Regions from separate parts of the Homo sapiens genome. Here all the other regions are linked to region 2. Evidence: promoter capture Hi-C in human tissues and cell types (Jung and others, 2019). All regions are on one chromosome and are shown on one strand. Each heading gives the region's core, a stretch centred on a gene start or on the middle of the fragment in contact. The rest is flanking DNA. Distances are from core to core; before and after follow the strand shown. Region 1 overlaps ODF2 (outer dense fiber of sperm tails 2). Region 2 holds the start of ZDHHC12 (zDHHC palmitoyltransferase 12). Region 3 overlaps ODF2 (outer dense fiber of sperm tails 2). Region 4 overlaps GLE1 (GLE1 RNA export mediator). Region 5 overlaps KYAT1-SPOUT1 (KYAT1-SPOUT1 readthrough). Region 6 overlaps SPTAN1 (spectrin alpha, non-erythrocytic 1). Region 7 overlaps LRRC8A (leucine rich repeat containing 8 VRAC subunit A).

Evidence for each region. Contacts are between HindIII fragments. The study calls those that stand out against the background at their distance.
Region 1: a contact is called between a fragment that was not itself captured here and the fragment with the promoter of ZDHHC12 in region 2, in 4 of the 25 tissues and cell types used here (dorsolateral prefrontal cortex, liver, mesenchymal stem cells and 1 more).
Region 3: a contact is called between a fragment that was not itself captured here and the fragment with the promoter of ZDHHC12 in region 2, in 1 of the 25 tissues and cell types used here (dorsolateral prefrontal cortex).
Region 4: a contact is called between a fragment that was not itself captured here and the fragment with the promoter of ZDHHC12 in region 2, in 9 of the 25 tissues and cell types used here (adrenal gland, aorta, dorsolateral prefrontal cortex and 6 more).
Region 5: a fragment that was not itself captured here is called in contact with the fragment with the promoter of ZDHHC12 in region 2 in 2 of the 25 tissues and cell types used here (hippocampus and lymphoblastoid cells).
Region 6: a fragment that was not itself captured here is called in contact with the fragment with the promoter of ZDHHC12 in region 2 in 3 of the 25 tissues and cell types used here (IMR-90 fibroblasts, adrenal gland and mesenchymal stem cells).
Region 7: a contact is called between a fragment that was not itself captured here and the fragment with the promoter of ZDHHC12 in region 2, in 2 of the 25 tissues and cell types used here (liver and spleen).

What each region holds. Positions count from the first base shown.
Region 1 is chr9:128,475,656-128,479,783 of GRCh38, reverse strand. All of the region lies in intron 8 of ODF2 (outer dense fiber of sperm tails 2), which reads right to left. Among named protein-coding and RNA genes, the nearest start is that of ODF2-AS1, 4.7 kb to the right of the region's middle. The HindIII fragment of the contact is 8,207 bases long and covers 1-4,128 here.
Region 2 is chr9:128,722,644-128,726,399 of GRCh38, reverse strand. It overlaps ZDHHC12 (zDHHC palmitoyltransferase 12), which reads left to right and starts at 2,273. Exons shown (of 5, transcript NM_032799.5): 1 at 2,273-2,406. The coding sequence starts at 2,307. ZDHHC12-DT (ZDHHC12 divergent transcript) reads right to left here and starts at 1,938. Exons shown (of 2, transcript NR_046240.1): 1 at 1,765-1,938. RefSeq lists a silencer at 1,905-2,384. The HindIII fragment of the contact is 17,684 bases long and covers 1-3,756 here.
Region 3 is chr9:128,494,863-128,499,049 of GRCh38, reverse strand. It overlaps ODF2 (outer dense fiber of sperm tails 2), which reads right to left. Exons shown (of 21, transcript NM_001351578.2): 18 at 2,909-3,009; 19 at 475-637; 20 at 1-49. Among named protein-coding and RNA genes, the nearest start is that of GLE1, 7.8 kb to the left of the region's middle. RefSeq lists enhancers at 2,926-3,220, 3,764-4,187. The HindIII fragment of the contact is 9,273 bases long and covers 1-4,187 here.
Region 4 is chr9:128,539,261-128,543,322 of GRCh38, reverse strand. It overlaps GLE1 (GLE1 RNA export mediator), which reads right to left. Exons shown (of 16, transcript NM_001003722.2): 14 at 3,625-3,707; 15 at 2,985-3,048; 16 at 1,035-2,221. The coding sequence ends at 2,153. All of the region lies in intron 2 of LOC101929270 (a long non-coding RNA gene), which reads left to right. Among named protein-coding and RNA genes, the nearest start is that of SPTAN1, 11 kb to the left of the region's middle. The HindIII fragment of the contact is 3,623 bases long and covers 202-3,824 here.
Region 5 is chr9:128,863,307-128,866,962 of GRCh38, reverse strand. The region is part of intron 1 of KYAT1-SPOUT1 (KYAT1-SPOUT1 readthrough); the gene reads left to right. All of the region lies in intron 1 of KYAT1 (kynurenine aminotransferase 1), which reads left to right. Among named protein-coding and RNA genes, the nearest start is that of KYAT1, 17 kb to the left of the region's middle. RefSeq lists an enhancer at 3,079-3,373. The HindIII fragment of the contact is 3,497 bases long and covers 1-3,429 here.
Region 6 is chr9:128,560,506-128,564,266 of GRCh38, reverse strand. All of the region lies in intron 1 of SPTAN1 (spectrin alpha, non-erythrocytic 1), which reads right to left. Among named protein-coding and RNA genes, the nearest start is that of SPTAN1, 9.8 kb to the right of the region's middle. The HindIII fragment of the contact is 5,340 bases long and covers 1-3,761 here.
Region 7 is chr9:128,892,904-128,896,543 of GRCh38, reverse strand. The region is part of intron 2 of LRRC8A (leucine rich repeat containing 8 VRAC subunit A); the gene reads right to left. Among named protein-coding and RNA genes, the nearest start is that of LRRC8A, 13 kb to the right of the region's middle. The HindIII fragment of the contact is 8,143 bases long and covers 1-3,640 here.

The sequences.
Region 1 (4,128 bases), core at 950-3,449, 250 kb after region 2:
GGCATGTGGAACCTCTCCGTGTCTCTAATATGCCACTGCCATTTTTAACCTCTCCCCACAACCTCTGGACAATGAGGCTGTTCCCATGTTTTGCAACTACAAACACTGCAGCAATAGACGTTGCTGGGCATATACAAAGTGCCTCTCTAGGGATGATACCAAGAAGAGGAATGGCCAGGTCGGAAGGTCTGAGATTTGTGGCTGAAATGCCCTGCAAAATGCCTGCACCAATTCACTGGGCTACAAGCAGGACATGGGAGGACTCACTTCCCTGCACTCACCAGTACCAGGCAGCAGCCAACCTCTGCCTCTGTTGCCAGTCATCTGCCAACAGCACTCCTGCTGGTTTCATTTGCACTTCTCTAATTACCAGTGAGGATTAGCATCCTCTCATATGAGCCATTTGGGTCTCCTCTTGCCTGAACTTCCTGCTCCTGCCCTGGCCCATTTTCTCACTGGGCTATGTCTTTGTGACTGTCCCTATTTTTCTTTGGCACCTGAACAAAGTATCCCTTGAGGGAGGGACATCTTGTTCACCCTCTTTCCCTCTCAGACCCACAGATCCCCTTCATAAGCCCAGAGAAAAGGGCTCTCTGGTTCCCAAAGTTTCCTGGGCACCTAGGAACTGATAAAAGACAGTATTATGGTTTCTCTGGCAACAAGAGGCAAAGAACCTGGGACAGAAGGCTTGGCCACGGATGCAGAACCTGAGGCTGTTCTCACTGCCCTCCAGGCCTCCCCTGGGGCACTGAAACCACTGACCAACTCTTCTGCCATCCTATGTGCATGAACTCACCAAAGCCCCCTACTCTAAGAGCCATGCACTATCACTACCCCCATCTCAGAGGAGGAGACTAAGGCTGGGAGAAGTGAAGGCAAGTGAGGCCACACAGCTGGAAGGGGTAGTACTGGGCCCTGGAGCCGACTCGGACTCCAGAACCAGAGCAGTTCCCCACCACACTGAGCACTACCCAGCAAGCACCGAGATGGTGAGGGAGCCCTGAGCACAGATGGGCACCAAGGAGCTGAGCCTGGACAAAGCACAAAACACCACTTTTGGGTGGGAATTCAAATTAGCTGACCCTTCATCTCCAATTGAAGATGGGACTCCAGGATGACAGAAGCTAAGAAACCAAAAAAGGAGAAAACTGGCTAGAGCAAGAGGCTTTTTTTTTTTTTCCTTTTTGAGATGGAGTCTCACTCTGTCACCCAGGCTGGAGTGCAGTGGCATGATCTTGGCTCACTGTAACCTCTGCCTCCCGGGTTCAAGCGATTCTCCTGCCTCAGCCTCCTGAGTAACTGGGACTACAGGAGCGTACCGCCATGCCAGCTCATTTTTTTGTATTTTAGTAGAGATGGGATTTCACCGTGTTGCCCAGGCTGGTCTCAAATTCCTGAGCTCAGGCAATCTGCCCACCTCGGCCTCCCAAAGTGCTAGGATCACAGGCGTGAGCCGCCATGCCTGGCTTTCTTTCCTTTTTGAGATAGTGTCTGGCTCTGTCATCCAGGCTGGAGTGCAACAATTTCAGAAGCCGAGGCAGACAGATCACTTGAGGTCAGGCGTTCAAGACCAGCCTGGCCAACACAGCAAAACCCTATCTTTACTAAAAATACAAAAAATTAGCCAGGTGTGGTGATGCACACCTGTAATCCCAGCTACTCAGGAAGTTGAGGCAGGAGAATCGCTTGAACCCAGGAGGTAGAGGCTGCAGTGAGCTGAGATTGTGCCACTTCAGCCTGGGTGACAGAGTGAGACTCTGTATCAAAACAAACAAAAAAATTAATAAAGCTTCCCTCTGAGGGGAGGGAGACAAGGTTATTGCAAAATGACACACAAAAGGGAATCAACTATGTAGACACTTATTTTAAAAGCTGGGCGGTGAGTGGCCGGGCACAATGGCTCACCCCTGTAATCCCAGCACTTTGGGAGGCTGAGGCGGGTGGATTACCTGAGGTCAGGAGTTTGAGACCAGGCTGGACAACATGGTGAAACCCCGTCTCAACTAAAAATACAAAAATTAGCCGGGAGTGGCACCTGTAATCCCAGCTGCTTGGGAGGCTGAGGCAGGAGAATCTCTTGAACCCGTGAGGGGAAGGTTGCAGTGAGCTGAGATTGCGCCACTGCACTCCAGCCTCGGTGACAGAGCGAGACTCCGTCTCAAAAAAAAAGAAAAAAAAAAGCTGGGCAGTGAGGATACCACTTTACATTACTTGTTATATATATATATAATTTTTTGGGGGGACAGTCTAACTCTGTCACTCAGCCTGAGTGAGTGACACAATCTCAGCTCACTGTAGCCTTGACCTCCAGGGCTCAAGCAATCCTCCCACCTCAGCCTCCCGAGTAGCTAGGACTATAGGTGTGTGCCACCACACCTGGCTAAATTTAAAATGTTTTGTACAGATGAAGTCTCACTGTGTTGCCCCGGCTGGTCTCAAACTCCTGGCCTCAAGCAATTCTCCCACCTCGGCCTCCCAGAGTGTGGGAATTACAGGCGTGAGCCACCACACTTGGCCTTATTTTATATATTAACAGGTTTTTTTTTTTTTTGAGACAGAGTCTCGCTCTGTCACCCAGGCTGGAGTATAGTGGTGCAATCTAGGCTCACTGCAACTTCCCCCCTCCTGGGTTCAAGCAATTCTCCTGCCTCAGCCTCCCGAGTAGTTGATATTACGGGTACCCATCACATTTTTGTATTTTCAGTAGAGGTGGGGTGTCACCATGTTGGCCAGGCTGGTCTCGAACTCCTGACCTCAAGTGTTCCACCTGCCTTGGCCTCTCAAAGTGCTGGGATTACAGGCATGAGCCACTGCACCCGGCCAATATATTAATTTTTAAAGATAAGGCCGGGCGCGGTGGCTCATGCCTGTAATCCCAGCATTTTGGGAGGCTGAGGTGGGCAGATTGCCTGAGTTTAGGAGTTCGAGACCAGCCTGAGCAACACAGTGAAACCTCATCTCTACTAAAAATACAAAAATTAGCTGGGCATGGTGGCACGCACCTGTAATCCCAGCTACTCAGGAGGCTGAGGCAGGAGAATCACTTGAACTCGGGAGGCCAGAAGTTGCAGTGAGCCGATATCGTGCCACTGCACTCTAGCCTGGGCGACAGAGCAAGACTCTGTCTCAAGAAAAAAAAAAAAGATAAAAACAAGGTTGACAATGTTAAAACAAAACGAAACAAACAAAAAAACAGGGCTTGGTGTGGTGGCTCACGCCTGTAATTACAGCACTTTGGGAGGCCGAGGCAGGTGGATCACCTGAGGTCAGGAGTTCGAGACCAGCCTGACCAATATGATGAAACCCCGTCTCTACTAAAACTACAAAAAGTAGCCCGGTGTGGTGGCATGCACCTGTAATCCCAGCTACTAGGGAGGCTGAGACAGGAAAATCACTTGAACCCAGGAGGTGGAGGTTACAGTGAGCCAAGACTGTGCCATTGCACTCCAGCCTGGGCAAGAGTGAAACTCGGTCTCAAATAAAAAAGCAAAAATAAGAAGAACGTCACCATTTCATTAGCACTGGCATTTTGAGACTATTGTCATCTCTTTGCTTAGAACCAAGCAGGAGACAACCATTTATACTGTCAGTCTTTTCTGCAATATTTGCTAATATATCATCATTCACAATAGCCAAGATACGGAATCAACCTAAGTGTCCATCAACAGATGAATGAAGAAAACGCAGTAGAGATACACAATGGAATACTACTGAGCCTTCAAAAAGGAAATCCTTTCACAACATGCACAAAACTAGAGGATATTATACTCAGTGAAATAAGCTAGGCCCAGAAAGACCACATGACTTCATTTATATGTGGAACCTAAAGAAGTTGAACTCGGCCGGGCGCGGTGGCTTACCCCTGTAATCCCAGCACTTTGGGAGGCTGAGGTGAGCGGATCACAAGGTCAAGAGATCGAGACCATCCTGGCCAACATGGTGAAACCCTGTGTCTACTAAAAATACAAAAATTAGCCGGGCATGGTGGTGCACGCTTGTAGTCCCAGCTACTCAGGAGGCTGAGGCAGGAGAATCACTTGAAACCGGGAGGCGGAGGTTGCAGTGAACAGAGATCGCGCCACTGTACTCCAACCTGGGCGACAGAGCAAGACTCCATCTCAAAAAAGA
Region 2 (3,756 bases), core at 1,024-3,523:
AGAGCCTCTGTCTCCCAGTCTCTGCAGGAGAACAGAGTCCTAACTTTCACCATTGCCAGCGAGCACGCGGAGCTGCCTAATCACATTTACCATGACCAACCCTTTGGAATTTTTCATTTCCCTTATTCTGCTGAAGCCCTCACCGTTTCCCTCCACTCCCTCATTCTCCCTTTAAGCCAGACATGGTGGAGCACGCCTGCAGTCCCAGCTACTCTGGAGGCTGAGGGGGAAGATTGCCTCAGGTCAGGAGTTTGAGGCCATAGCGAGACCCCATCTCAAGAAAGCAGAAAACCAAAACCACAAAAAACATCAGTCACCTCTGCACAAACAGAAGTTTCAGTTGGTTCACACTGGGCTCTCCGCCCTATCAGTAGTATATTGTTAATTAAAATCTGGCCTTACTATTTGAACTAGTGTTGGGATGTTTGATACTAGCACAGTGCCTAACCCACGGAAGCTTCAGAATTATGTGCTGAGTGGATAATGTGCTGGATGTCCCCACTGAGCACATCAGATCCTGCACCCAGTGCAGTAGTCAAGACTTAGCTGCAAATGACAGACACCCAACTCAAACATCTACTCAGGCTAGTCAAAGGTGGGAATTGGGGCCAGGCATGGTGGCTCACACCTGTAATCCCAGCACTTTGAGAGGCTGAGTTAGGCAGATCACTTGAAGTCAGGAATTCGAGACCAGCCTGGACAACATAGTGAAACCCTGTCTCTACTAAAAATACAAAAATTAGCTGGGCGTGGTGGCATGTGCCTGTAACCCCAGCTACTTGGGAGGCTGAGGCAGGAGAATCACTTGAACTTGGGAGGTGGAGGTTGCAGTGAGCCCAGATCGCGCCACTGCACTCCAGCCTAGGCAACAGAGTGAGGCTCTGTCTCAAAAAAAAAAAAAAAAAAAAGGTGGGCATTCATTGACTCTTGCAACCAGGGGATGCAGAGTCAGTATCAGCTTCAGGGACAGCCGGATCTAGAGGGCTCAGACAATGTTGTTCAGACCATCTCTTGCTCCCTCCTTTAGTGCTGCTTATCCATCTCTATGTGTCTTTATAAGTTGGTCTCATTTTCTCCAGCCACAGACAGGGTAAGCCCTCTCCGCCCAGCGTAAAGACGGCTCCCAGTTGCCTTATATCCCATTCCTTAGGCTTGAGATCCAAAAGAATGCTCCTTCCTCTCAGCATCTAGACAGTAATCTCATGGAAGGCCTGTGATTGGTTCTGCAGAGTCGAAAGCCCACAGCCTGCCGCTCGCCATCCTATGGGGTGAGGGGCAGTCCCTCCAATCACATGGGATGGGAAGTCGATTCCCCAACCAAAAAAAGGATGTTGAGCTGAGAAAAACAACAGATGTCAGAGGAGTATCCTGGAGGAGCTGGGATGGGGCCAATCAGAGGGAGGCGGAGGAGGATGCTGGTATCAGTGGGAGGTGCTGTGGAAAGGCGGGGCTGAGTGGAGAAGGCCCTGGGGACACAGGGAAGGAGGACAGCCTGCAGCCTCCGGTGAGGAAAGTCCGCCTGTAGGTGGTGGCTCACAGCAGGAGAGGCAAGACAGTCCCGTGCTAGACAAGGCGCTTCCATTATTTAATCCTCCCAAACACCTTAGGAGGAAGACACTATTGTAATCCCCCTTATAGAGACAGAAAACAGCTCAGAGGGGCTCAGTAACTCGCCCAGGGTCACACAGGTAGGAAGGGGCAGTGCTGGGATTTCTGACTCCCGCCTAAGTTGGATCACCCATAGTCAGAATGTGCACCACGTACCTCCACTTTTCTCTCGTCCGTTTGCAATATCTGAGAATACATAGCAAGGAGGTAAAGCTGTCACCACAGAGCAACCTTGGGCGAGCCTTGGCCCTCTCGAGACTTTAGTCATCACATCTTTGAAATGGGTACAATTTTGCCTCCCGGACTCACAGCAAGCCGCTGGATCTTCGAAGCGCCCAGGGAGCTACGCGCATGCGCGAGGCTGCGAGGGCGGGCACAGGGGAACGCGGGGGAGGGCACAGCGGAGCGCGGGGGAGGTGCGCGCGCGCTCCGGCGCTTTCAAAAGTTACCTGGCGGGTGGGGCTGGAGTTGAGGGAGTTACCAGCTGCGCGCGCGCCGGCCCCACCCTCAGCCTCTTCAGGCACCTGTTGGCTTGAGGGTCCATTCGGCCGCAGATGCCATCCAATAGGCAGCCTCCCTGACCCAGTCCGGCCCCGCCCAACGCCTAGATCCACCAGTCCCCGGGCGGCGGCGTTCCCCTCCCTCGGAGGGCCCGCCCCTCTGGGCGCTTCTTCCGGGTGGGGCCCCGGGCCGAGGCGATGGCGCCCTGGGCGCTCCTCAGCCCTGGGGTCCTGGTGCGGACCGGGCACACCGTGCTGACCTGGGGAATCACGCTGGTGCTCTTCCTGCACGATACCGGTGAGCCGGACCCCGAGCGACCCCGGACCCACCCGATCCCGCGTACTTCCCCAGACGTTCTGGTCACACTGGGTCTCCCGCCTAATCCCTGGAGATCCTGGGATTGGCCCGATCTCCACCAGCTCCTGAAGCCCTCTCCCCATCTATCATTCCAAGAGCCACCTGCTCTCTGTCTGATACCCCGTTGATCCCTAATTAATCCCAGCATCTTCCTGATCATTGCCAAATGCCCTGTCCATCCCAGGACCCAGCCGGTGCCCACCAGATCCAAGGACCGACTTGAGCCCCATGTCCCCTGATCCTGGGACCCACATGATCCTTCCCAGGAACTGACCCCAAATCTTCCTATCCATACGATTAGGAGGCTCAACTAGATGCAAAGATTGGCATTCTGCCCACACCCACACCCCCCACACCCCCATGGCCACTAGCTGCCCAAGTCCAGGCAAACCCTCAGGCCAGAGAACACTCCATGGGGTGCGGCCTGTCTCCCATCTTCCCACAGATTCACCCACCCACCCACCTCCATTTCCCTCATTCCTCTTAGTAGCCCCCTACCCAGCGCCTCACCTGCCACAGGCAGCCTCCCCCACTGTCCCCCACAGCAGACCCCAGCCCTCCTTCCATGGCGGTCCAGCCTCAGTTTCTGGACTGGGGCCCCTTCTGGCTTTCCTCCCAAGACAGACCTCCTCCACCACCTTCACCCTTTAGCCTAAAAACTTGCTCAGGTCTCCGTATCAGAAAACCCCCCTCAAAACCCACCCTTTCTTCTCTGCTCCCCCTTACAACCAAGGGACACAGGATTTGTCTACACTCTGCTGTCTGGTGGTCTCATGCCCCCTCACTCCTTGCCCTGCACCCTACCTCCCCAAAATCCTGTCACCTCCCTGGGCTGAAGCCTGCTGGACCCTTCCGTATGCCCCTCTGCAGCATCTGAGCCTGCCAGCTGCACCCTTCCCACTGTATCTCTCTCAGGCATTTCAGACCTAACCAGTCTCTCACCATTGCAGAGCCAGAGACGCTGGACCCCTCTTCCCTCTCTCCCACATCCAGTCAGGTCTGGCTCCCTTGACCCAGCAGCCCCCTGTCCATTCCTTCCTCCCTCACTTCCTGCCAGGCCTTTGTAGCGACTCTCTTCTTCCTCCTGGCCAGATTCTCTGCCCCCAGGCTTCCCCTGATCCATTTCTTTAGCAATGAGGTTTTCCAAAACAGATCTGGCTCTATAACCTTCCATGGTTCCCTCTGACCCTCCAGATAAAAGTGCAGATGAACTGCTGGCCACACACAGCCACTCATGGAACCAACATCTCCAGGCCTTTGCTCAGCCAGGAACACACTTCCCCACCTCCA
Region 3 (4,187 bases), core at 1-2,500, 230 kb after region 2:
TCTGGGCTGCTCGCTCCTTGGAGAGTGCGTGCTCCTTGGTTTGTTCCACCTGCACATTCAAAGGCCCAGACATGAGACTGGTTTACCGGACATGGGGAACACTTGGCAAAGAGAAGGCTGGGCCCACTATCTGGTCTTGCAGACAGCACTTGCACATCATTGTGGACTGTGTTCTCTAGAACGCTGGGGCAGGAACTAACTATGGGGACTATGCCTGCCACCCAGCTTTGCCAGTGCTCCAGGAGTCACCACCTAAGATGTGGTAAGCCTATGTGAGGCTCAAGAGGGTAGTGAGTAAATGAGCAATCATCAGATATCAAGTGCTGAGCCCTCTACGATGAAAATGTGATCCTTACAACTAATTCATGAAGCGGGTACTACTGTGTGCCCATTTTTCAGATGGAGAAATAAGCTGAGAGTTTAGGTGATTTGCCCAAGGTCACAGAGCTAGTCATTCATGAAATCGGGACTGACCTGCCTCCTCGCATCTTCAATGGCACTCTCCAACTGCCTTGCCAGGGTCCCACATTCCCGTGTTTTCTCCTCCAGCCGCAGCTGGGACTGGTGGATTGCCTCCTCCCTCTTGGCAATCACCTGTAGGAACTCGATATTCTGGGCACTGGTCGCCTCCAGTTTCCTAGGTGAAAGCACTCAATCAGATCCTGGGCATACCCCAACCTGTCATGTTCCACCCCGCCAGGGGGCTGCCAGCCTCTCCTGGACTGGGGATCTCATCATGCCAAGAATCTCCAAGGAGCCACAGGAATAAGCCAAAGAAATCTGCAGATCAGCAAGGCGACCAAAGAACTGTGCAGCTGGAGCAACTGGTTAGAGAACAGAGTGAAGGGTGGGAACGCAGAGACTGACCGTGGGCTTTGTTAAGTGTGGATAGCATCACATGGAACACAGCAACTTGCAGCTCAGAAAAATGGTACCATTATTATCCCCACTTCAGAAATGAAGAAACTGAGCCTCAGAGAGGGGAATTCATTGGCCTGAAGTCAGCACAGCTGGCAAGTCTGTAACCAAAACCTAAGCCTGCAACTTCTGCTGTTCACTGCTGCCTCCCACAGCAAAGGGACTTCAGCTACACCACTCAACATCTTGTGTGACCAGCCATAGGGCAAATATGGCCATCCCGATATACACACACTGTCCTCAGTGCACTTCCAGGATGCCTTCCAATTTAAGGAGCTCTGCAGGGCCTGGGGGATCTAGCTGCCATTTCCAAGGCTGGCAGGGCAGAGCAGAGGTGGAGCCTGGAAGGAGCCCACTTGGTTGTAGCCTCCTTGCAAGTGCACTGGCCACCTGAGGCACTTAGGGCCTCCTAGGATGTCAGGCACCTTCACCTCTGAAACTAAGGCTGGGACCAGGGCTGGAGGACTCTTGCCCACCTCTTTTTTTTTGAGATGGAGTCTTGCTCTTTCGCCCAGGCTGGAGTGCAGTGGTGCTATCTCGGCTCAATGCAAGCTCCGCCTCCCGGGTTCACGCCATTCTCCTGCCTCAGCCTTCCGAGTAGCTGGGACTACAGGCGCCCGCCACTGCGCCCGGCTAATTTTATACATATATATATATATATATATATATATATATATATATATATTTTTTTTTTTTTTTTTTTTTTTTAGTAGAGACGGGATTTCACCGTGTTAGCCAGGATGGCCTCGATCTCCTGACCTCGTGATCCGCCCGCCTCGGCCTCCCAAAACGCTGGGATTACAGGCGTGAGACACCACGCCCGGCCTCTTGCCTACCTCTTAGAGATGCTCACAGAAGCTCTCGAGGAAGACAGTCACGGGTCTAAGTCATGCTTTGCCAGGTACCAACAGTGTGATGCTGGGAAAGTCACTTAACTCCTCCCCAAGCTCAGTTTCCTCATATTTAAAACTGGGATAATACCAGCTAACTAATAACATGTTCTAAGCTATACTGAGCGCTTCTCTATGCCAGGTAACATGCTAGGACCTTTACCAGGATTATATCATTGAAGACTCACACCACCACCATGAAAAGATTATTATCAGCCAGGTGTGGTGGCTCCCGCCTGTACTCCCAGCACTCTAGGAGGCCTAGGTGGGTGGATCACTTGAACCCAGGAGTTCAGGACCAGCCTGGGCAACACGGCGAAACCCCATCTCTACAAAAAATACAAAAATTAGCCAGGCATGGTGGCATACGCCTGTAGTCCCAGCTACTTGGGAGGCTGTGGCAGGAGAATTGCTTGAGCCCAGGAGGTCGAGGTTGCAGTGAGCTGAGATTGCACCACTGCACTCCAGCCTGGGTGACAGAGTGACATGATAGATAGATGATAGATAGATAGATAGATAGATAGATAAACTCTACCTTGACCCTTTCCTCAAAAGGAGGAAATTGAGCTTCAAAGGAATTAAATGATTTGCTCAAGATCACAATGCTGGTAAGTGGCAGAGCTGGGCCCCAAGGCCAGGGCTTCTGATTCCCAAAGCCGTACCCTTCACCTCTGACTGCCTCCAACAATCCGTAAATAACAGAGAACGGTCAGATCAGAAAGGTCTTGGGAAGGGTGACTGGCAAGAAAGGGCAGAAAAGAGTGGGGAAGTGCCCCCACCACAGTATACTGGCTGCTCCATTCAAACTGGGCCCTCCTGGCAGGCCTGGACCAGGCATGCCTTTTGGGACAGGTGGTGCCTACAGGTGGGCAGATCCTGATCATGCTGTCATGGAGTGTCTCCCCAGGCTGAGAGGCCCCCTTGCTCTCTCCCACAATGCTTACCACTGAAATGGAAGCAGCTTTTCCTCTGAGGTCTGCCTAGTACCTTCCAGGGCCTCGAGTCCCTCAACACTTCCGCACACTAAGCAAAAAACAGCTAAGTGGCTGAAAGTCTCAGGTCCTAGGAAGAGGACAGAGATGGGACCAAGTGCCTCTAACCTCTCCAGTTCATCCACCTTCAGACTCAGCTGTTTATTTTCCTTCTGGGAAGCCTGATGTTTCTCTCTCGCCATCTCCAGCTTGTCCCCCTGGTGTTCGATCTAAAATGACAGGAACACAGACTGGTTTACAAAGGAATTTCCCGCTAGAGCCCTCCCCTTTCCCTATGACCTGTTGTCCACACCCAGGAAAGGGGCACAGTGCCCTCAGCAGGTGTCCAAGTCTCAACGCACAACCTAGAGGAGAAAGGACAGCAGGGACAGGTTAGGCCCAACTCCAAAGACAAAAGGCTCTCCCCACACTGGGAGAAACCAGGTTTGATGCTAAAGAATGACAAAGATGCTTTCTCGATCAGGGGAGGCCACTCAGAGAGACCCAGCTAGGATCCAGGACAGACATGAGAAGGCAGAAACAGCTGGCAGGGCTAACTGGCCCATACAAACCAACCACAGAGCTTTACCTGTTATGTTGCTGGTACTATTGATCTCAACCTCCTCTTAACTGGGGACAAGTGCAGGCAAGACAACAGGAAATCTGTCAATCCTTTTGAGTTGGCAAGTTTGAGAATTTACCCAGAGGGCTGTTTTATGCAGAAGCCTCAGCTATCAAGGCTCAAAGTCCCTGAGAATGCTCAGGTTCAACGGAGAAGGCAGGCAATGTAAGGTTACAGTACTGAGAATGTGGGCTTGGGAACCAGACAGAGCTGGCTGGGTTCCAATCCCTGCTTACTAGGTACTAGCTCTGTGATGGTGGGGAATTACTTCTCCTCTCTATGCCTTGGGCTGCTTTCTGTAAAATGGGGAAAATAACACATGCACCTCACAGAGTTCCTGATGGAATTAAATGAGAGAATGCAGGAACACAGAAGAGGTGCTCAAAAAATGGTAGCCCCTTTTCTAATTATCACAAGTACACACGTCAAGAGTGGGAAAGGGGCCTTGCCCAAGGTCACGCTGCAAATGAGTGGTATATAATTTCTTGGACACTGCAGGCCGTAGGCATGGTTCCAGTAACCCAGAGACAGACTGCTTCTGGGAGAAAGGGATGCTTGCTTCTTTCAGGACAGAATCTCAGGCAGTGCATCTGTTAAAGAGTCAGGAGAAGCAGCTAAAGCAAGAGAAAAAAAGAAATTCTACGGCTCGGTGTCTGCTGGCATCTCCCAGCTGTGGGTGTGGAGCTGAGGACAGCTGCGGAGCACACAGGCAGAGGCAGCAGTCTTGGGTGGGGGCAACAGCAGGAGGGCCCAGTGACTCCACGCAAGTGACGGCTCCTATAACTA
Region 4 (4,062 bases), core at 764-3,263, 180 kb after region 2:
TGTCTGGGAGGGCTAATGAGGTCATCATGCCAAGGCACACCAGCTGGGAAGCTCTTCGCTAAGGAACTGCTATCAAGCATAGTTTGAAAACTACAGTGACATGTCCAGTTCTTTTGTTTTACAGGTGGGGATACTGAGGTTCAGAGCGGGTGAAGGACCTTCCCAAGGCCAAAAAACCTAAAAGTGATTTGAGCCGGGGTCTCCTGACTCCGTCCCCAGTGTTCATTCCATTGTGTCTACCTTATTTATTTATTTATTTTTTTGAGACAGGGTCTTGCTCTGTCACCCAGGCTGGAGTGCAGTGGCATGATCACAGCTCGCTGCAGCCTCGACCTCCCAAGCTCAAGTGATCTGCCCACCTTAGCCTCCTGAGTAGCTGGGACTACAGACATGTGCCACCATGCCTGAAAAATTTAAAAAAAAATTTTTTTTTTTTTTGAGACAGAGTCTTACTCTGTCGCCCAGGCTGGAGTGATCTCGGCTCACTGCAGCCTCTGCCTCCTGGGTTCCAGCAATTCTCCTGCCCCAGCCGCCTCTTGGGTAGCTGGGATTACAGGCACACACCACCATGCCCAGCTAATTTTTGTAATTTTAGTGGAGACAGGGTTTTGCCATGTTGGCCAGGCTGGTAAGACGTGAGCCACCGCGCCTGGCCAAAAAAATTTGTTTTAGACATGGGGGTCTCACTATGTTGCCCAGGCTGGTCTTGAACTCCTGGACTTAAACAATCCTCCCACCTCAGCCTCCCAAAGTGTTGGGACTGCAGGCATGAGCCACTAAGCACGGCCTATTGTGTCTTTCAAAGATTTTAATACACTTTCACATCTCTTGCTAGATAAAATAGGGTCAGTTATTAGTACATAATTCCAAAAAAGGAAATGACAGAAAAAGAAGTAATATTCCCAAGGTGTAGGTCAAGAAGACCAAAAGGAATAAATGCATACCGCTCTATACCTGGACTTGTATACTATCATGATTTACATAGCTCAAGGCAGAGGAAATTGATCATATTGAACCAATATATCAGCAATGGGTTTTTCAAAAAACCAAGCTTTATTATTAATTTTTTTTGGCACCTTAATTAACAATTCATAGAATGGGTCACTTCAGGCCACTCAAGAGTACCAGTGAACACTCCCCCACAAACACACCCTGCCACAAGACATTTAGCACAGAGGAACAGATCCATGGCCACTGCCTCTGCAGTATCAAAGAGAATTAGTCTTTCCACAAAACAAATTTTAACAGCCAATCTCTGGATTTCTGTAGTGGCTTTAGTCAGGCATATTTATCATCATATTAGCAGTGTTCAGTTCCTGCCCAACATCTTTATTTAATCCCAATTCAATGCTTATGGATGCTCAGCTCATGTTTAATGTTGCAAGCCCCATCTTAGCCCATCTTAATTCAAACAGAAAAGAAACAAAACAAAACAAAAACAAAAAAGGTACCTGCCTGGTTCATGGATCCCTAGCCATCCAGGGACCAAATTCCAAATTAGGATGACAAAGAGTTTCCCTTAGTTCAAAATGACATGTGTTTCCAGTCCTAATCCCAGATGTTAATCTAGCCATAGTGTCACCTGAGCCTTAGTCCATGTGTATATCACATACTTCCTCTAGCTTTAGAATGACTTCACAAGCTGAGAAAGGCAAAACAACCATAACCCAGACTTGCATGTAAGTATCTGGCCTCAACTATTAAATAATACTTAAAAGGGAACCTTATGAGCCTTAGCTCTTTCTGGAAATTCATCTGAACAGGGGTGAGGGTGGGTAGGTGGGTGCAAATGGTGGGCTCCCTCCAGCTCAGAGTGCATTTGTTAAGGTATTGCCAACTTTCTGAAAGACACTAGAGACAAGGGAGGAGACCAAGTGCTAAAGACCTTTTATCACTTTTGCAAAAAACAAGAAAGGCCAACTCCATTTATTTTATCACGTGGATCTCTTAAGGAACTACCAAATCTACTAAGGGACCTCCAAGAATTTTGTGACCCATGAAAATCTCCTCTCCTAGTCACAAGGCATAAATACATAAAAATACATAATGGCAAATTTCTGAATCTGACATGACTTCTCCCAAATACAGCTGTCTTCAGTTCCTTTATTATTGCCTCTTTGCAGCAGCGGTGATGGTGGGTGATGGAGTGACATCAGGAGCGCCAGAAGGAGGAAGTCAGAAAGCCCTTGGGGACAGGAATGTCCTTGTGTTGCAAACATTTCTGGTCAGGGAAAGATGAAGAAAACAGAATGAGTTTCTGATAACAGTGTTCCCAACACTTAATGGTTAAAAGAAGCTTTGAGGAACACCATATTTCAGCCCTATGGAACAGTGAACAAAAAGGAAAAAGCCAGTAAGACTGATGGTTCTGTATAAGATGTCCACTTCTGCATGATCTGCTCCAGACAACAAATGAAATGCTCTTATTATTCCTGTCCCACTCTTGTCTCCCTACAGGCTAACCTCATCTTTCACAATCACTATTTTCACAATCGAGCTTTGAGAAGCTGAAAAGTCAGCAGGCTATCTTGGCAAACCCACTATAGTGTTCTAAATTCTTTGTCAAAATTAACCTTTTACAATCTCTTGGCACTTGGAAGTAGGGGAAGAGTCCAACTGAAAGTGCAGTTTGATCTCATGGAGAAAAGTGATGACACTTACCAATTCCCCAGACCTGAGACTAAGAAAATAACCTTGGCCAACATGCAAAAAAAATATATATTAATGAGAGGAGATACACTAAATATATTTTACTCATCTCAGCATAGCTTTCTCACAGGCAGTATAGAGAATGATACATATAAAGAAGAGGAAATGGCAGCCCTTACTCCAAAGGTTAAGAGGGAATTAGGAACAAAAAGAAGGGTTTGGAAGAACTAAGGAAGAGAGTGCAATCAGAGCATCGGAAGGTCCAAGACTTGTCAGACATAGGTGCATTCCAGCCCAACAACAGTGTGGGGCATGTTGGTCTAAGGGCATCTTACCTCCAAGAACTGCTTGAGGCGTATGAAGGAGCCCATCTGTCCTGAGCTTGTGATAGCTTCAATTCTACAGGGAGAGAAAGACACATGAATCACACCTATGATATACACCTATCTTTTGGAAACGGTGTCTCACTCTGTCACCTAGGCTGGAGTGCAGCGCGGTGGTGCGATCATAGCTCACCGAGGCCTTGAACTCTTGGGCTCAAGCGATCCTCCTGTCTCAGCTTCCCTAGTAGCTGGGACTATAGATGCATGCCATCATGCCTGGCTAATTTTTTTTTTGTAGAGATGGGGTCTTGCTATATTGCCCAGGCTGGTTTTGAACACCTGGGCTCAAGTGATCCTCCTCCTGTGGCCTCCCAAAGAGCTGCAATTATAGGCATAATTATAGGCATAAGCCACTGTGCTCAGCCCCTAATTTGTGTTTTTGTTTGGGCAATGATATTTAAGACAGACTCTCATTAAGGTTCAAAAGCATTTATTCAAATATCAACGAGAGGGACTGGAGTAGGAAAGATGTCATACTTAGTACAGGTGTTTTTAACTTGAATCAAAACCAGCAGGTAATAGCACCCTTGGGTATCTGAGGCCTGGTTATGAGTTACTTAATCCCCTGCTGTCTGCTCAACAAGCCTGATACCTGGGAAAGTAGTCCTCTTTGATGAGAATTAGCATCTTCCAGAACTGAACCTGGTATTGCTTCATGAGGGCATTCCCACACACCTAGAGGGAAAGACAGGCACTGTCAGAGCAGAAAATGAAAATTCACACTCACAGGACAGATTCATAAAGCACAATCAGCCCTTCATCTTTCACACCTATCAAAAATTTCAACCACAATGCCACTGAACTTGCTAACAAGGGAATAAATGGAAACACCCAACTTTCTTCTAAAGCATTTCTCTTTATATGGCAATATCTCCATTTAACCAATCAGGTCTTAATGAACTACTCTTCTTTTCCTCTAATGAATGGACGCCTTCCTAAAGGTATGGTATACCTCCCAAACTTAGTAAGGAGAGTATACAGAATACCACTTGTGTTCTCAAATGATACAGGATCATTGTTCATGTATGGT
Region 5 (3,656 bases), core at 432-2,931, 140 kb before region 2:
ACTAATTATGACTAATTTTCAGCATCCTTTCAAGGTTATTGACTTTTTTTTTTTTTTGAGACAGAGTCTCGCTCTGTCACCCAGACTGGAGTGCAGTGGCACGATCTCAGTTCACCACAACCTCCGCCTCCTGGGCTCAAGCGATTCTCCTGCCTCAGCCTCCCAAGCAGCTGGGATTACAGGCGCACATCACGGCTAATATTTTTTATATTTTTAGTAGAGACAGGGTTTCACCATGTTGGCCAGGCTGGTTTTGAACACCTGGCCTCAAGTGATCTGCCCGCCTTAGCCTCCTAAAGTGCTGGGATTACAGGCATGAGCCACTGCGCCCGGCGACTATTTTCTTTTCTTTTCTTTTCTTTTTGAGACAGAGTCTCGCTCTGTTGCCCAGGCTGGAGTGCAATGGCACGATCTCAGCTCACTGCAACCTCCACTTCCCAGGTTCAAGTGATTATCTCACCTCAGCTTCCCGAGTAGCTGGGATTACAGGTGCCTGCCACCACACCCGGCTAATTTTTGTATTTTAGTAGAGACAGGGTTTCACCATGTTGGCCAGGCTGGTCTCAAACTCCTGACCTCAGGTGATCCGCCTGCCTCAGCCTCCCAAAGTGCTGGGATTACAGGCGTGAGCCACCACACCCAGCGACTATTTGCTTTTGTGAATTTCCCATTTATATCTTTTTCACACTTTTTCTTATTGAGATGCTGGTCTTTTGTTGTCGATTTATACAAATATTTGCATATTAAGGCTCATATTATATTAAAATGGCCCAGTTACTTGTTTGTCTCCTTGATTAGATTGTGCGCTCCTTGGAGGAAAGGAAGGTATCCTATCACCCTTGTATACATGGTGGCTAGCTTAGGGAATGAATAGCACATAATAGGAATTCACTGAGGAGATGTACACTTACCATATGGCAGGCTCTGTGCAAGATGTTGAGAATAAAAAGATGAACAGAAGAGAATCTTTGTTCTAACAAAGCTTACAGTCTGGTGCAAGCGATAGACATTCATTCTCATTCTGCAGGTTTATTGAGCAGCTGCTCTGTGCCAGGTGCATAACGCCCATTGGAAGAGCCAGCCTATTAGGATGAGAAAAATGTCAGGACTGGGACTTCGCTAACCTGGTCCTGGGAAATCTGGGTGGGTCAGTTCCCCATCCCTGGTTATCAGTATCCCCATCAATAAAATGTGAGCCACTGGACCAAATTCTCTCATTTCCCATTGAGCATCCATGCATCTGTGCTGCTTTGGCTTTTGGAAAGTAGGAGTCAGAGTCCTGAGTTCAAATATTGGCTCTGTGCTGGGTGTGGTGGCTCACGCCTGTAATCACAGCACTTTGGGAAGCCGAGGTGGGTGGATCACCTGACGTCAGGAGTTTGAGACCAGCCTGGACAACGTAGTGAAACCCCACCTCTACTAAAAATACAAAATTAGCCTGGTGTGGTGGTGCATGCCTGTAATCCCAGCTACTTGGGAGGCTGAGGCACGAGAATCGCTTGAACCCGGGAGGCAGAGGTTGCAGTGAGCCAAGATCGCACCATTGCACTCCAGCCTGGGCAACAAGAGCGAAACTCTGTCTCAAAAAAAAAAAAAAAAAAAATATATATATATATATATATATATATATATATATATATATATATATATATATGTAGGCTCTGCTACTTGTTAGCTGTGGCCTTGGGTGTGTGACTTAGCCTTTTTTTTTTTTTTTGGTGTGGGAGGGATGTGGGGAGGGACATGGTCTTGCTTTGTCACTCAGGCTGCAGTGCAGTAGTGCAATTATGGCTCACTTCAGCCCCAACCTCCAGGCTCAAGTGATCCTCCCACCTCAGCCTCCCGAGTAGCTGGGACTACAGACGTGCACCACCACTCCCAGATAATTTATTATTTTTTGTAGAGATTGAGTCTCACTACGTTGCCCAGGCTGGTCTCGAACTCCTGGGCTCAAGGGATCCTCCTGCCTTGGCCTCTCTTGCAGGCATAAGCCACTGTACCTGACCACTTAGCCTCTTGAAGGAATCTTTCTTATAGGATTAAAAGTGATGGGAAGCCAGGAGCAGTGACTCACACCTCTAATCCCAGCACTTTGGGAGGCCTAGGCAGGCGGATCACTTGAGGTCAGGAGTTCTAGACCAGCCTGGTCAACATGGTGAAACCCTGTCTCTACTAAAAATACAAAGATTAGCTGGACATGGTGGTGCACAACTGTAGTCCCAGCTACTCGGGAGGCTGAGGCACAAGAATCACTTGAACATGGGAGGCGGAGGTTGCAGAGAGCTGAGATCGCGCTGCTGCACTTCAGCCTGGGCGACAGAGCACGACTTTGTCCCCCAAAAAATAAGTAAATAAATAATAAAAGTGATGGGACCTGATTTCAAGTAGTCAAAATCGCAGAGACAGCAAATGGGCTGGGCTATGGGCCAGAGGGTAAAGGGATGTAATTGTTTAATGGGTACAGAGTTGTCAGTTTTACAAGATGAAAACAGTTCCCAAAACTGTATACCTGTACATAGTTAAGATGGTAAAGTTTATGATATGTGTATTTTACCAAAATTTTTTAAATGAAAAACTTTTTTTTTTTTTTTTTTTTTGAGACAGAGTCTCGCTCTGTCGCCCAGGCTGGAGTGCAATGGCGCAATCTCGGCTCACTACAATCTTCGCCTCCCGGGTTCACAACATTCTCCTGCCTCAGCCTTCCAAGCAGCTGGGACTATAGGCACCCGCCACCATGCCTGGCTAATTTTTTTTTCGTATTTTTAGTAGAGACGGGGTTTCACTGTGTTAGCCAGGACAGTCTCGATCTCCTGACATTGTGATCCACCTGCCTCGGCCTCCCAAAGTGCTGGGATTACAGGTGTGAGCCACCGCGCCCGGCCTGAAAAACATTTTTAAGTGGTGGGACGTGTAGGGCTCCACGGGGCACCTAGCACAGGAAAGCGTGTGGTAAATAAAAGGTGACTGCCAGGGCTGTTGAGGAGCTGACTAGGGAAGGCCTGCTTCCTAGAAAAGGGGTGAGGCGCAGGGCATTGGAGGGAGGTGTGCCTGGGAGGTCAGGAGTCCTGCCTTATGCGGGAACCTGGAGCAGCACCCTCCCTGCTTTGGGCCTCCTCTGTGAAGTGAGGCGTAGTCCCCTCCTGGGGCCAGCAGGTTGCTCTGTGACCTGGGCCAGCAACCTCAAAGCCACGAGGGGCCTGGCTCCTTGCGCCCCCTGCTGGCCGACTCGGGAATAACACACCCACAAGCCCCCAAGTTGCTCCCAACCAACCTGGCCAAGTTGCTGGGTTAAGGCAGCCTACGTGCCCCCTGTACCCTTCTGCTCTTGGCTGAGAACCCCTTATGGCTTCTCCCTCCCTCCCTCCCTCCTAAGTTCCTGGAACCTACCTTCACCACACCCATAAGCTCACAGACACAGACACAGAGATGTGTGCACATGCTCAGGTGCAAGCTCTTGTATTTGGATCCTTTTGTTGTTTTGGTTTTTTTTTTTGTAGAGAAAGGGTGTTGTTATGTTGCCCAGGCTAGTCTTGAACTTCTGAGCTCAAGCGATCTGCCCACCTCAGCCTCCCAAAATGCTGGGATTACAGGTGTGAGCCACCATGCCCAGCCTCCATGAATTATTATTATTTATTTCATGCATAGAAAATTGATGT
Region 6 (3,761 bases), core at 1,155-3,654, 160 kb after region 2:
TTGTATTTTTAGTAGAGACGGGGTTTCACCATGTTGGCCAGGCTGGTCTCGAACTCCTGACCTCGTGATCCACCCGCCTTGGCCTCCCAAAGTGCTAAGATTACAGGCGTGAGCCACCACGCACAGCCATGACTGGCTAATTTTTAAATTTTTTTTGTAGAGACAGGGTTTTGATAGGTTGCCTAGGCTGGTCTTGAACTCCTGGGCTCAAATGATCCTCCCACCTCCGGTCTTCCAAAGTGCTAAGATTACAGGTGTAAGCCACCATGTCCGGTCCTGTATCCCTGATTTCTAGCATACAGAGGTCATCAAGAAATGTTGGTTGAATAGGCCGGGCGCCATGGCTCACATCTGCAATCCCAGCACTTTGGGAGGCTGAGGTGGGCGGATTGCTTGAGCCCAGAAGTTCGAGAACAGCCTAGGTAATATGGCTAAACCCTGGCTCTAAAAAAAAAATTATCCAGGCATGGTGGCATGCGCCCGTAGTCACACTACTGTACTCCAGCCTGGGTGACACAATGAGACCCTGTCTCAAAAAAAAAAAAAAAAAAGAAATGGTTGAATAAATGATCAAGTCCATGCTGAATGTTGCAGATGCTGTGCAGCAGACCTGAATTCATTTGTAAGGGGTAGGGAGAGAGCTCCATAACGAATCTTTCAGTTTGCATATTGTAAAATTGGAATTCTATCCAGTTAAGTGCTAGACTGATGACAAGAATGGCAAATAAAGAATGTGCTGACTAAAGCTACACAACTAGGTGTCAACCTAATGACTAAATCTGAATTACCAATCTTGGATTGACCACATGGCAGTATACTCTGAGAAAGTGGCGTTTTTTTGTTTTTTGTTTTTTGGCAGGGTCTCACTCTGTTGCCCAGGCTAGAGTGCAGTGATACGATCTCAACTCACTGCAACCTTGCCTCCTGGGCTCCAGCGATCCTCCCGCCTCAGCCTCCTGAGTAGCTAGGAGTACAGGCAGGTGCCAGCACACCTGGATAATTTTTATATTTTTTGTACAGGTGTGGTTTCACCATGTTGCCCAGGCTAGTCTCGAACTCCTGGACTCAAGTGATACACATGCCTCAGTCTCCCAAAGTGCTGGGATTACAAGCATGAGCCACTGCACTGGCCTATTTTCTATTCTTAAAACAGACGTCAAGTCCTTAAAACCAAAAACTGGGAGTGACCTTGAAAAGCTTAATGTCTGCTCAGAGCAGTTTTTGTAATAAAATATATACATATATATATATATATATATATATATATATATATACACATACATGTATATATATATTTTTTTTTAGACGGAGTCTCACTCTGTCGCCCAGGCTGGAGTGCAGTGGCGTGATCTCGGCTCACTGCAAGCTCCACCTCCTGGGTTCACGCCATTCTCCTGCCTCAGCCTCCTGAGTAGCTGGGACCACAGGCGCCTGCCATCACGCCCGGCTAATATTTTCTATTTTTTAGTAGAGATGGCGTTTCACCGTGCTAGCCAGGATGGTCTCGATCTCCTGACCTCGTGATCCGCCCACCTTGGCCTCCCAAAGTTTTGTAATATTTAATGATAACAGGCAGTCATAGTTTACACTGCTGCCCTAAGTCTGTCAGCCTATTTTGGAGAAGGCTGATTTCTGATGAGGACCCTGACAAGGATCACTATAATCACATTTACTACAAGGTAAACAAGACTTCACTCAGTCACCTTCCAGTTGTCTCCTCCAGCCGTATCTCATGTCAAGCTCCCTCACCAACACCAATTACAGGTCCTGGACAGGGTCCATTTGAAAGCTCAAAAAGTTCCCTTTCCCAGGAGTGCACTCTCCTCTCCCACTCCCAACCCTACCATCTAATATCATACAGATCTCGGCTGGGCGCGGTGGCTCACGCCTGTAATCCCAGCACTTTGGGAAGCCGAGGCAGGTGGATCACAAGGTCATGAGCTCCAGACCAGCCTGGCCAACATGGTGAAACCACATCTCTACTAAAAATACAAAAATTAGCCGGGTGTGGTGGCACGCGCCTGTAGCCCCAGCTACTCGGGAGGCTGAGGCAGAAGAATCGCTTGAACCTGAGAGGCGGAGGTTGTGATGAGCCCAGATCGCGTCACTGCACTCCAGCCTGTCAAAAAAATAAAAAATATAAAAAACAAATCATACAGATCTCTGAGTCCAAAGCAAATGCCTCGTCCTCTATGAAGTCTTTCTGAATCAGAAGTCTCCACTCCCTGACCACCCACCTCTATCATTCATCTTATAACACTGCCACATTCTGCCATGAAATTATTGTGTTCTCCCTACCACATTCATAAGTCCTTTAAGGAACTCTAAAGAAGACCATATTTTACTCTTACTCTCTGGGCACAGAACTCAGGACTTGGCACATATTATAGATCCAATTATATTCAGAGCTTGGAAATAAAGAAACTGCCATCGTTTTATAATTAAGTAGTTGGGAGACAGGTAATTTAGTAAGCAAGTTGCAAAGGCCAGGATGACCTGGGATCCTCCGGTTCCCAGAATATGGCACAATAGACACAGTGATTCTTAACATGATTAGAGTTGACATATTGACATATTCTTTTTTTTTTTTTTTTTTTTTTTTTTGAGACGGAGTCTCGCTCTGTTGCCCAGGCTGGAGTGCAGTGGTGCAATTTCGGCTCACTGCAAGCTCCGCCTCCCCGGTTCATGCCATTCTCCTGCCTCAGCCTCCCGACTAGCTGGGACTACAAGCATCCACCACCTCGCCCGGCTAATTTTTTGTATTTTTAGCAGAGATGGGGTTTCACCATATTAGCCAGGATGGTCTCGATCTCTTGACCTCGTGATCTGCCTGCCTCGGCCTCCAAAAGAGCTGGGATTACAGGCGTGAGCCACCGCGCCTGGCCTTTTTTTTTTTGAGATGGAGTCTTGCTCTGTCGCCAGGCTGGATTGCAGTGGTGCGATCTTGACTCACTGCAACCTCCGCCTCCAGGGTCAAGCAATTCTCCTGCCTCAGCCTCCCGAGTAGCTGGGACTACAATCACAAACCACCACGCCCAGCTAATTTTTGTATTTCTCTTCTTTTTAAGAGACAGGCTTTCACTATGTTGGCCAGGATGATCTTGATCTCGACCTTGTGGTCCGCCCGCCTCGGCCTCCCAAAGTGCTGGGATTACAGGCGTGAACCACCGTGCCTGGCCGACATATTATTTATTGATGGCTGTTTGGTTATTTATTAGTTCCTTTCACTTCTTTTTTTTTTTTTTTTTTTTGAGATGGGGTCTTGCTCTGTTGCCCAGGCTGGAGTGCAGTGATGCTATCTGGGTTCACAGCAACATCCGCCTCCCAGGTTCAAGTGACTCTCCTGCCTCAGCCTCCCCAGTAGCTGGGATTACAGGCACCCGCCACCACACGCGACTAATTTTTGTACTTTTGTAGAGATTGGGTTTCACCATATTGGCCAGACTGGTCTCGAACTGACCTCAGGTGATCCACCCACCTCAGCCTCCCAAAGTGCTGGGATTACAGACGTGAGCCACAGCACCCGGCCTTCACTCCCTCTTTATTAGTTCCTTTTCACATCTGCACTTTGGAGTGAAAAAACAGTGAGGCAGACACAGTGGCTCACACCTGTAATCCCAATACTTTGGGAGGCGAGGCGGGCAGATCACCTGAGGTCAGGAGTTTGAGAACAGCCTGGCCAACGTGATAAAATTCTGTCTCTACTAAAAATACCAAAATTAGCTGGGTGTGGTGGCACATGCCTGTAGTCCCATCTACTC
Region 7 (3,640 bases), core at 596-3,095, 170 kb before region 2:
TAAATTAAAACGATCACATATCACTTCACTCCCCCAATTGGCAAAAACTGTGAACTCTTAGAGAAGGTAGGATGCACGTACTCTACAACCCAGCAACTCCTCTCCTCATTATTTATGCATCTTAGAAAGCTGCTCCACACATAAGTGAGAAACCACACACAAGGATGCTCACTGAAGAATTGTTTGTAATAGCAAAAAATCAGAAATGACCCACATGTTCATCAACAGGAGAAAGGATACGTTGTTCTAATCATACAATGGAAATGCTTTAAATCAATTAAAGTTAATGAACTGTAGCAACATGTATCAATGTGGATAAACCTCAAAAGCAATGTTGATCCAAAAAACAAGTTGTAGATGATGCATATGTTATATAAGGTTTTCTACAAGGTGTATACCCAAGTATACCGAAGATACAAAAGCATGCATGGAAAGTCTCCAAACCAAGATAATGATTGTATCTAGGGAGGGAAGAAAATGGGGAAGGGACTTCAACTGTGCTTGGAATATTTTACTTAAGTGCCTGCGCACATTCAAGTGTGTGCGTGCGTGCATGTGTGTATCTGAAACAATTACTGCAAAACACTGAAGTCTGACAAAGCTGAGTTCTTGATATGGATGTATCTGTTCTAGTTTTTATACTTTTCTTAAACCATTTCATCACACAAAACTCACTGAAACACTCATGCATTCCTACCCTGCATAGCCAGTGCTCTCCCCAACCTCCCACAGGCGAAGGCTCAGCGGGGAGCAGCAGCTACTGCATCTTACCAGGTTACCGGAGCAGCAGAGGCAGCTCCTCCTACCAGCTGCTGCTCCTCAGCCCCTGAGGACCCTGCAGAACTCGTAAGCACTCCCTACCTGGTCCTGCCCTGCCCCCAGGGAGATGTAGAAGTGGGCATCATGCAGAACAGGCCCTTCCCACAAGGCAGCTCAAGCAGGTGCCTAGGACAAATGGGACCAGGTTCCTGGCCAGGGCCAGGGCATCTCTGTGCCTGGGGGTTAAATGAGTAACCCAGAGAGCCCCAGCCTTCCCTCAGGCACAGGTGGATCTCAGGGAGCAGAGAGAGCAAGGACTTGGAGTTTGGGACATGTAGGTTCAAATCCAGCTCCAGCAAGAAATAATTCTGTGACCCCAGGCAAATTGTTTAGCCTAAGCCTCTGCTTTTACAACTTATTTTATTTTATCTTGGAGACAGTCTTGCTTTGCTCCGTGGCCCAGGCTGGAGTGCAGTGGCACGGTCTTGGCTCACTGCAACCTCCACCTCCCGGGTTCAAGTGATTCTCCTACCTCAGCCTCCCGAGCTTCTACAACTTTAAATCAGGAATAACGCCACCTTCCTTGTAGATGTGTATGCAGTGACCCCAGAGACATCTAAGAGATATTAAGCATAAAAGAATTTTGCTGAGCAGTATATAAAATGTGTTATCTGCGAAAGAAGCCAGTCATAAAAGGCAAATACTTTGATTTCACTTATTCACATAAGTGAATAGACAGAAAACAGAAGGGATACCAGGGCCTGGGGGAGCAGGAAATGGGGAGTGAGCGTTTAATGGGTGCAGAGAGTTTCAGTTTTGCAAGATGAAAACAGTTCTGGAGATGGGTGGTAGTGATGGATACACAATATGAATGTACTTAATACCATTGAAGTGTACACTTACAAATGGTTAAGGTGGTAAATTTTATGTCATGTGTATTTTACCACAATGAAAAAAATTAGGAAATATGATATCTTTTTTTTTTTTTTTTTGAGGTAGAGTCTCACTCTGTTGCCAAGGCTGGAGTACAGTGGTGTGGTCTTGGCTCACTGCAAACTCTACCTCCTGGGTTCAAGCGATTCTCCTGCCTCAGCCTCCCAAGTAGCTGGGACTACAGGTGTGTGCCACCACTCCTGGCTAATTTTTGTATTTTTACTAGAGATGGGGTTTTGCCATGTTGGCCAGGGTGGTCTCAAACTCCTGACCTCAAGTGATTCACCTGCCTTGGTGTCCCAAAGTGCTGGGATTACAGGTGTCAGCCACTGTACCTGGTCTGTTACTGGTATAATTTTTTTTTTTTTGAGATGGAGTCTCACTCTGTTGCCCAGGCTGGAGTGCAGTGGCATGATCTCTGCTCACTGCAAGCTCTGCCTCCCAGGTTCACGCCATTCTCCTGCCTCAGCCTCCCAAGTAGCTGGGACTATAGGCACCCACCACAATGCCCGGCAAATTTTTTTGTATTTTTAGTACAGACGGGGTTTCATCGTGTTAACCAGGATGATCTCGATCTACTGACCTTGTGATCTGCCTGCCTCAGCCTCCCAAAGTGCTGGGATTACAGGTGTGAGCCACCATGCCTGGCAATTTTTTAAAACAAGAATGATGGCTGGGCACGGTGGCTCACGCCTGTAATCCTAGCACTTTGGGAGGCCGAGGTGGGTGGATTACTTGAGGTCAGGAGTTTGAGACCAGCCTGGCCAACATGGCGAAACCCCGTCTCTACTAAAAATACAAAAAAATTAGCTGGGCGTGGTAGCACACAACTGTAGTCCCAGCTACTCAGCAGGCTGAGGCAGGAGAATCACTTGAACCCGGGAGGCGCAGGTTGCAGTGGGCCGAATCTGTGCTGCTGTACTCCTGCCTGGGTGACAGAGTGAGACTCTGTCTCAAAAAATAAAATTATATCAATAACAAACTCATTACTGTGTACAGAAAAGAATTTAGAAAGCTATGCACAGAACTATATATAGTTAAGTCTACTCGTGGTGAGACTGTAGAGGGCTGTCTATATTATACATTCTTCCATTATTTAAATCTGGTATGTTTATGAGTAGAAAAACTGCTTGGAAATAAATCAAAAGACCTTCCTCACTGTGTGGTTTCTCAGGATGATAAAAGAATTTATGCGTAGCTGCCATCCGTACATTAGAAACAGGTCAGCCTCATCCTCCCTGCCCTGCCTCGTAACACTCACGCTCAGCAGCTTGCGGTCCTCACCTCCTGGGAGCAGAGCAGGGAGGAGTTCAGACCCCAGAGTTGGGCAACTCAAACGCCAACCCCACTACTGCCTCACTGGGGCCTCAGAGCCTCTGTGTCCTCAACTGCAAGATGGAAATATTACATCCTAAAATGGGTTATAGCTGTGAAATGGGTTATCGTGAGAATTAAAAGTAAGGCATCATGTGTCAATACAGCACCGGGCACACTCAGGCTGTCGTTCCACGGTCCCACCTGCCATCGCAGATGACCCTCCCAGAATTCAGTGGGGACTGACCTGGGTGAGGGCGGAGCCTCAAGCACCATGTCTCTGAGCAGGGCCAGACCACTCAGAGACCCACAGGACCCCCCAGGACTCGCAGAACCTCGAAAACTCGCAGACCACTCAGAGACCCTCCCAGGCTCAGGACCCCGTGTGGCAGAGTTGGCCATCTGCTCTCAGAGCCAGTCATTAGGTTCAGCCCCAGTCCACATCCCCTGGATGCTTCTCGAAGACAGGGAGTCAAGAAATGACAAGCTGCCCACTCTGTCCCAGAGAGAGACCCCCCCAGCACGCACCAGACCCCATGTGGGCCCACAGGGATTTGGCGTGGCTCCCACACCTGGGCGGCAGGCAGTCGGGCTGCGGGTAAACAGGGCACAGAGAGCCTTTTGTGAAAGCACA